Linked DNA regions of Homo sapiens: region 2 is linked to region 1. Evidence: promoter capture Hi-C in 16 types of primary human blood cells and fetal thymus (Javierre and others, 2016). All regions are on one chromosome and are shown on one strand. Each heading gives the region's core, a stretch centred on a gene start or on the middle of the fragment in contact. The rest is flanking DNA. Distances are from core to core; before and after follow the strand shown. Region 1 holds the start of MEIKIN (meiotic kinetochore factor). Region 2 overlaps RAPGEF6 (Rap guanine nucleotide exchange factor 6).

Evidence for each region. Contacts are between HindIII fragments. The CHiCAGO score rates a contact against its expected background, and 5 or more counts as called.
Region 2: a fragment that was not itself captured here is called in contact with the fragment with the promoter of MEIKIN in region 1 in 1 of 17 cell types (neutrophils); the score reaches 6.0 in neutrophils.

What each region holds. Positions count from the first base shown.
Region 1 is chr5:131,943,819-131,948,336 of GRCh38, reverse strand. It overlaps MEIKIN (meiotic kinetochore factor), which reads left to right and starts at 2,674. Exons shown (of 13, transcript NM_001303622.2): 1 at 2,674-2,937; 2 at 3,088-3,181; 3 at 3,585-3,672. The coding sequence starts at 2,832. The HindIII fragment of the contact is 14,593 bases long and covers 1,221-4,518 here.
Region 2 is chr5:131,558,376-131,563,090 of GRCh38, reverse strand. It overlaps RAPGEF6 (Rap guanine nucleotide exchange factor 6), which reads left to right. Exons shown (of 28, transcript NM_016340.6): 5 at 1,044-1,113. Among named protein-coding and RNA genes, the nearest start is that of RAPGEF6, 74 kb to the left of the region's middle. The HindIII fragment of the contact is 3,906 bases long and covers 1-3,647 here.

The sequences.
Region 1 (4,518 bases), core at 1,425-3,924:
TTCACTTCCCCTTGCCACCAAGGAATTCAAGCTCCTCTCTTTGCTCCCCCTACTTTTCTCCCAGCCATGTGTTAGGAAGAATGGGAGTATGACAAGCGCAGCAGCCAGATGCCAGGAGAACCATGTTCCCTATGCCAATCATCTGTTTTAAATAGCTTCCCTACACTCTGGTTTCCTCAGTGGCAAAATGAGGGGGCATCTAGATCATCTCTAAGGACCCTTTTGGCTAAAGAAATCATATCAAAGTTTATTTCTGGTTTTGAAACCTGATACGTTAATTCCCACAAACCTATGGGAATTACTTGATGACATATCAGTGAATGTAATTCAGTATAGTGAGACAGAGTTCTAGGGAACAGGACCACCAAATGGCAGACCAGCTTTTGGTTTAACCTATTTTCATTTTGCAATGTTTCTTCCATTTCTGGGCCTAAGGCACCCCAGGCTCTAGACCTCCCAAATGTCATTTAAGAAGTCTGAATTTTTTTCACAACAGCCCCCAAAGGGAGAGGGGGGAGCATAAAGGCCTGGCTTGTAAACTAGAGACTGCCTGCCAGCATATTATGGACACGACTAAAGAAAGAATGTTGAAAGATGATAATTGCTTTATACTGCAGCAAGGCTGTGAGATCTTTAACTGAAGGACCATTTCTGATTCACTTCTGTATCCCCAGGACCTACCACAGTGCTTAATACAGATTAAGGTGTTCAGTAAATATTGATTCAATGACTCAAAACCCGAGGTAAAACCAGGTAAGAATGCCTACCATCTGTTCTTTAGAAAGCTAGATTTTGATGATTAATTATCTAGTAAATTGATTATCATAAATGTTTCTGTGAGCAGATTTTAAATAAAATATTCAGTGATTATATTACAAAAATACTGTGGATATATATGTGCTTATATTCGCACATACAAGACTGAGGTGTTACAGAAAAACCTTTAAGCTTTTCATAGTTTTATCTCTTCAAACTGCATTTTAAATGTTATGAAATATTTCCACTTTTTAGAATAAAAAGATGGTTATTGTTATGTGCATAATATGCTCATCTGATGTCGCCAGATGGTTCAACCTAGGGTATGGAGAGAAAGGGAGGTAATTCCAACATATCTCTAATTGACAGAGCAGAAGAGTTTGCTACCGAGCAGTCAATGGGCTCACTGCCTGATGAATGCAGAGGCTAATACCATGGCACTGGCTTTTGGGAAAAGAAAAGCTTTATTGCAAGTGGGCTGGCAAGGAGACAGGAGGAAATGCTCAAATCTGTCTTCCTAAGCTGGGGTTTGGTTTGGTTTTTATAAGCATAGGGTAAAGAGATGTGATCTGATTGGATCTTGTAATGAGGTGATGCTGGGAGGCATGATCTGACTGGATCCTGCTATGGGATGAAGCCAGAGCTCAACCCGGTTGGATCCTGCCATGCCATATCTACTTCTTAATTCAGTCCCTCCTCCTTGATCTGAGCACTTGGTTTCCCCTGTGGCTGCATGCTTGGTTCATCTAGGCATGCTCAGGTTACATGACCTCAGGGTTCATGGCAACTGAAAAACAACTCACAATTTTGTTACATAAAAGTTGAACCAAGGCTGGGCAAGGTGGCTCACACCTGTAGTCCCAAGAATTTAGGAGGCCAAGGCAGGAAGATCACGTGAGGCCAAGAGTTCAAGACCAGCTGGGATAACATAGCAAGACCCCGTCTCTATAAAAAAATTTACAAATCAGCTGGGCATGGTGGCATGTGCCTGTAGTCTTAGCTACTCGGGAGACAGAGGTGGGAGGATCACTTGAGCCCAGAGTTTGAGGCTGCAGTGAGCTATGATTGTACCACTCCACTCCAGCCAGGGTGACAAGCCAGACCCTGTCTTAAAAAAAAAAAAAAAAAAAAAAGAGGAGAAGGGGAAGGGGAAGGGGAAGAAAGAAGAAAGAAGAAAGGAGAAAAGAAGAAGAAGAAGAAGAAACAGATCGGTCTGGTGCAGCAACAAGTTGAGGCCCAGGGCACAAGGAGGAGAGCCCCTATGGAATCTTCTACCTTAACCACAAGGATGCCCAGATGTCTAGAGATGGCTCCTGGACACAGGCTAAGGGACTGTTTGTCGTCCAGAAGCAGCCTCCTAGAGCCCGGGATCTTCAGAGGCTTGGTTAGCCTCTTAATTACCATAGCTTCCCAGTCAGTTGCAGGCCCAGGGGACTGAAGTTGATTCCTCAGGGAGAAGCTCCTTGTCACTTTAAGGTGCATTCAGTCCTCTTTGTGACCTTCCTGCACTGAGGCCAACCCCTCACAAGACTGCCTGTGCTGGTGGCCTAAAACTCCATTACTAAGGCCTTATGCAGTGCTGATAGGGAGAGCTTGCTCAGAGGAAGTGTTGGGCCCACCCAAAGGAGGGAACGCCTTTACTCCTGCATGCCCAGTTGAATTAAGCATGCAGCCACAGGCGAAACCTAAGTGCTCAGACGGAGGAGGAGGGGCTGAATTAAACCTTTTTCTGGACGAGGAAAAAGTTTTTTCCAAAAAACTCTCGTTTCGCTGGAGTTGAAGGAACCTGCGCCAGAAGGCCAGAAACCACTGGGCCCCTATAGGAAGGCTGGGCGGCTGCCGCGCTCCTCCGTTTTCCCAGAAGCCTCTGCGCGGCCTCACAGAGATAAAAGCGCGGGAGCGAGGCCCGGCGGCTCCAGTTCTGGGGCTTTTGCTTTCGCTCGATTAGTTGCTGTGAGGCTGCTCCGCGGGCCTCGCCTGGACGCTGACTCCCTGTGACTTAGCCCTGATCCTCAGGAAGGCAGGCCATCGAGAGTCCAGAGGCACCCGTGGCCTGGGGGTAGGGTGGGATAGCAATGTGGCCGCTACGGGTCTATACCCGCAAAAAGCGGGAGGGTCAGAGGCTCAATCTCACCCCGACGCCAGACCTAGGCTCTCCAGCGAAGGCCGAGGCCCCGCCAGGTACAGGCTCAAGGCTCGCCCACCGTAAGCTCAGCCGAGCTGCCTCCGGGACGGGACCGAGGGCGGGCGGGGGTGCTAGGCCTCGGGCCCAGGACCCCCCCGAAGCCGGTGGGTAGGTTTCTTGCCCTGAAACGTGCCGCCCTCTCTCAGGTTCGAAGAGAAAAGGCAAAGTGCACGGCTTGTCGAAGATTGCAGAGAAAGCAGAGCGGAGCAGGCAGGGAGGTAGCGGCTCTGGGCCGTTCAGGTATGTAGCCTCCAGTAACAGCCCGATCCTAGCTTGCCACCTCAGAAAACTTCAAGCCGAATTTTCTGCTAGTAGCCTTTTATTCTAACAGTCAAGGAGCAAAACAAATACAGTACTCTGATTTTGCTCTTCTCAGAACATGGACCCCAAAATTTGACTTCAGGAAGATTTATTTTTAAAAAGGGGAAGGCTTGCCAATTTACGTAAAAGGAAGTGAGATAAATTGGTCGGTGAGCTATACGATTGTGTCACTGCATTTGGGTTTTGGTGCAAGTCACCACTCTGGTCCTTACTTCTTCCTAAAGATGTCCCTAAAGAGCCTTTCAGATTCTAAAGAGTCTGAACAGAGACGTGGAGAGCCAAATCCAGATGGTGCAAACTAATTGCGTTGTCTCTTTGTTAGCCCTCGCTTAGGAGTTACAGGAGAGAAAAGCCTGCAAGAAAATAGGTCTAGTGAAGACACCCAGGATGAGAAGATTGCATCGTTGCGTGTATGTATGCTTCTCTTTTAGTCCTTGGACACACTTAGTGTAGAGACTATCAGTACCTGATGTACCTCCGGATGAAAGAATAAAATGGGCTTTGTTCTGTAGATGTTACATAGCTCACCAGTATTTTTATAAACACTTACGTGTCTTTAGACAGGGCCTTGAATTTCTGACTTGGGTAGATTCATAGTCATGCATTTTTGTTTTTCTCTTTCTCTTGACACGTTTTTGGAGAAACGTCCATAATTGGTGAATTTTCTGTATGACAAATACAAAATGTTACTTAATAACTCCTTTTTTCATGTTTTCCATTTGATTTTCCATTAACAACTGGAAACATTCATTACTAAGGGTTTAATATGTTACAGAGCATTCTAATGTTTATTCATTAGAATATTTTATAACTTCTTGATGTGCTGTATTTAATATGAATTCTGTACTATATTTTAAAGTTGTACAGCACTAATTTAGGGAAGCTCAGATTTTAAAAATTGCTTGTGACTCATCTGACATTAACATTAAACTTCATAGTCAAGTTCCTTTTTTTTTTTTTTTTGGAGACAGAGTCTTGCTCTGTCACCCAGGCTGGAGTGCAGTGGCACAGTCCTGGCTCACTGACTGCAGCTTCTGCCTCTCGGGTTCAAGCGATTCTCCTGCCCCAACCTCCTGAGTAGATGTGATTACAGGTGTATACCACCACCCAGCTAATTTTTGTATAGAGGGGGTTTCTCCAGGTTGGCCAGGCTGGTCTCGAACTCCTGACCTCAAGTGATCTGCTCGCCACGGCCTCCCATAGTGCTGAGATTACAGGCTTGAGCCATCACACCTGGCCAAGTTCTATTTTTTTTT
Region 2 (4,715 bases), core at 445-2,944, 380 kb after region 1:
ATAGTTGACAGGGCTTTTTTTTATTCTTCATTAAAAAAAATTCAGGTTATCTTTTAAAATGGAAACCTATCTTTTTCTCTGTGGTTGCTTTCTTTTTGATATGCTGAGAAATCTTTCTGAGACCAAGAATATAAAAATACTGTCTTTTAGTACTGGTCCAGCTTTAGTTTTTTCCAAAGAGCTGTGACTCCAACACTTTCTTTTAAGAAGTCATCTTTATATCTAACTACATTTCTTTATATATAGTTGGCACTTCATATCCGTGGGTTTCACATCCATTAATTCAAGCAACTGCTGATCCTGGAAAAAAAAATGGATGGTTGCATCTCTACTAAGCATATATAGACTTGTTTTACTTGTCATTATTCCCTAAGCAATAAAGCATAACAACTATTTATGTAGCATTTCCCGTGTATTAGGTATTATTAAAAATCTCAAGTTGATTTAAAGCATATGGAAGGATGCACATAGGTTATATGCAAATGCTACATCATTTTATGTTAGGCGCTTGAGCACTGGTAGATTTTTGTATCCTTGGGGATTCTGGAACCAATCCCAGTTGGATACCAAGAGACTACTCAAGTGTGAATATTTTTTAAGTTTTTTTATTTTTAGTATCTGTTGTCTTAACACTGCTCCCAAAAGATTATAATAATTTACTTTTATTAAATTGCCTAATCAGGTTATCACTTTTATTAGATTTTTACTAAGTGTATTTTTTTCTTTGTGCAACGTATATTGACAGATGTTAGAAATTTGAGATTAGACAGTTATCTTTTATAATTAATTTTAGGGACTAGTTAAAGGCAGAAGTTTAAAAAGAATTTTCATATAGTATTGAGATCAGTTATATCTGGACAATTAAGAGAAAGGTTTTTTTTTTTCTTTCTTTTTTAGAAAATCTTAACATAAATATTGTGACAGGATCAGAATTTCTTGGATAATATCTCAGGGCTTTTTTGTTGTTTGTTTGTTTTCTTTTCCTATATTGATATATTTTATTAATAACCTTTGCTAAAGAAATTGTTTTTCTGTTTTTATAGTTTTGGTAAGCAGTTTGGAGGAAAAAGAGGATGTGATTGTCTTGTATTAGAGCCTTCAGAAATGATTGTGGTAAGAACTTTAAAGAATGCTGAATTGTTTTTGATATGCTTCAGTTTTAACTTTAAATGTAGTAGGCTTTAAACACTTAAGGAGGTTTTATTACTATGACCTTTTAGAGATTTCATCAAGTAGCATCAGAACTATCTACCAGGTTTATCTATTTCTGTCTCTTCAGACTTTTTTTGATCCTCAAGAGAGTGTGAAACATGATACACTTACATATAATTTGCAGATTTGGTATTTTTTACCCCCTTCTACCAGAAAATTAGAAGTTTTAAAAGGGGACCATGAGTTTTCAAGTGATTTTTTTTTTTTTTTTTTTTTTTGAGACAGAGTTTCATTCTTGGTGCCCAGGCTGGAGTGCAATGGTGCAGTCTTGGCTCACTGCAACCTCCGCCTCCTAGGTTTAAGCAGTTTTCCTGCCCTAGCCTCCTGAGTAGCTGGGATTACAGGCACCTGGCACCATTCCCAGCTAGTTTTTCTATTTTTTAGCAGCCATGGGGGTTTCACCATGTTGGCCAGGCTGGTCTCGAACTCCTGACCTCAGGTGATCCATCTGCCTTGGCCTCCCAAAGTGCTGAGATTACAGGCGTGGGTCACTGCGCCCAGCCTCAGGTGATTTCTTCTTTCCCATTCAATTTTACTTTTTCAATAAACTTTGAATTCTATAGTCTGTGCCCTAGACTAGAGAGAATGAAGTAGAGAAAAGTAAAAAGACATACAATTAGATCCAAGTAAGAAATGGTGTTAGTATTTTCACTTTTTAATTATTTAAGATAAGTTTTTATTTAAGAGTGTATTTAAGGAATAATTCTTTATTTTTTCTTAAAAGAGCTAAGTAGTTGATGTAACTTTAGAATTTTTTTTTTTAAGTATTAGAAGAATCAAGAACACAGCTTGCTTTTTACGTTGTTCTAAGATGACCTGACTAGAAAACAGCATATACCGAGTGGACTCATTGTCCTACTAGGATCTCATGTAGATGACCATGTCATCTGATTAGATTTGAACTGTCAAGAAGAGAAATTGAATTCTTAATGAAGCATTTTAATGTAAGGGCTCAAAACCAAACTACTTTTCCATTTCATGGTGCTATAGTCAGATTGATACCTTCAAATAGTTTGTTTTCTCTTTCTTAAACTGGATCATCTGTATAACCATGAACTCACTATCCCTAATTTTATGTGAGCAACTGGATTTTAAGCTCTTACAGGGCAAAGATTATGTCTTATTCCACTTGTGTCTCCGAGAGTATCGCAGAGTACTGCCTGCATAGTAAGTATTCAGTGAATGTTTCTTGAATTCAAGTTTTTTCAAGGATGGAGTATGTATTGTTTCAAATTTATTTTCTTTAAGCACTGAATATATGGGATTCCTATTAGAGCCTCAGAATTCTTTCTTTTTAATGTATGTATTGAGGAACATGGCAAGAAAACTGCCCAGGCAGTATTGATTTTCTGACTTTTTAGTTGTATTTTGTATTTCTCATACTATATGCAAAAGAAATACTGCTTTTACTTCAGTGTTATACATTCTGTTTTAGTGCTTGTTTTACATACTTTATGTAATATTTTCATATGAGGAGGAAGAAAAGGAGAAATCATAGGCATAGCTATAAATGACATTGTTGGTGCAATTGATGAATTCAAAATATGCACTACAGATTGGATAATATCAAATTCCCTGAGTTTGATAACCATACTGTGGTTCTGTAAGACAAAGTCCTTATTGTTAGCAGTTACATGTTGACATATTTTGGGGTCAAGAAGCATTATATCTCCAATTTATTCTTCAGTATTTCAGAAAAACAAGTATATAAAATAAAAAGTCACATCAAGTATATGTATTTATGGCTGGTAATTTTTAAATTTCAAAAATTTAAATTTATTGATGATTGGTATAATTTTAAATGCTTTATGAGTTATAGGAGAAAACAATCCAAAATAGGTGAAATTTTTCAGAATTGTTAAAAATGCCTGGTCAAATGGTTTTGTCTATTTGTACAGATTTGATTAACTCCACTGGTGATTGGAAGTGTCTGTTACTGAACACATTCTTGATCACCTGATAAGTTAGTCATCTTAATCTGACACATTGTAAAGTAATCTCCTTGTTTTAACTTTTTTTTTTCTTTTTTTTTTTTCTTTTTTTCTTAAAGAAAAGGGGCTTACCGAGAGTAGAGTGTGCGGTGGTGCGATAGCTCAGCGCAGCCTTGGACTCCTGGGCTCAAGTGAGCCTCTCTCCTCAGTCTCTCAAGTAGCTGGGACTACAGATGCACCCCACCATACCCAGCTAATTTGTTGTTGTTGTTGTTGTTGTTATTGTTTTTGTAGAGACAGCCTTGCTATGTTTCACAGGCTGATCTCGAACTCTTGACCTCAAACAATCCTCCCACCTCAACCTCCCAAGTGTTGGACTTACAGGTGTGAGCCACCATGCCTGGCCCAAAGTATACTTTTAGGCAAGAAGCATTATTTAATGTAAGAATGGTACTGTATAGTGATAAAAGGTTAATTGTATCAAGGTTACACAATCCTGAAGCTTTACATGCCTTCAAAATACATAAAACAAAAATTGTCCTTAGTAAAATCAGAACTAGACAAACCCACAATCACAGTGGGAGATTTTTATTTTTATTTTTATTTTTATTTTCATTTTGTGATGGAGTTTTGCTCTCTCGTCTAGGCTGGGGTGCAGTGGCATAATCTCAGCTCACTGCAACCTCTGTCTCCCAGACTTAAGTGATTCTCCTGCCTCAGCCTCCCAGGTAGCTGGGATTACAGGTGTGCGCCACCACGTGCAGCTAATTTTTGTATTTTTAGTAGAGACAGTGTTTTGCCATGTTGGCCAGGCTGGTTTTGAACTCCTGACCTGAGGTGATCCTCTTGCCTCGGCCTCCCAAAGCGCTGGGATTAACAGGTGTGAGCCGCTTTGCCTGGCCAGGAGATTTTAATATACCTCTAAAGTAACTGACAAAACAACCACCATGAGTCAGTAAGGATATTGAGGATTTGAACCTCATCATGTACACATTTTACCTAAGAGACATAACAGGGAACACTACACTTATCAACAACAGAGTACGCCTACTTTTCAAGTGCACATGGAATGTTTTTTAAATTTGACCACATGCTGGGACATAAAGCAAGTCTCAAAATTTCAGTATTTAAAATTTTATAGTTTCTGACCACCATGAAATTAATTTAAAAACCAATTATAAAAACACAGCTAGAAAAAAAAATACAACTTCTGAAATTCAGGCGTATGCTCTAAATCGCTTGTCAAAGAAGAATTACTTAGAAAATTAGAAAATATTTTAAATGAATAAATATGACCTATTAAAATGTGTAGAATTCAGCGTAAGCCTTTCTTGTTGTGAAATTTAAGCCCTAGTGCTATAAGAGCAAAGGCTGACAGTAAAGTATTCATGTCAGGAAATTAAAGAGCAGCATATGAATAGTAATCACAAGCCAAGAAATAGTAAAGATCAATATAAAAATAAATATCAGTGGCATAAAAGCAAACTTAGAATAATGAGGATTGACAAAGGACAAGGTTGAGTCTCAGAAAAGACTAAGAAAATTGATAAACCCGTCAAAGATAATCAAAAA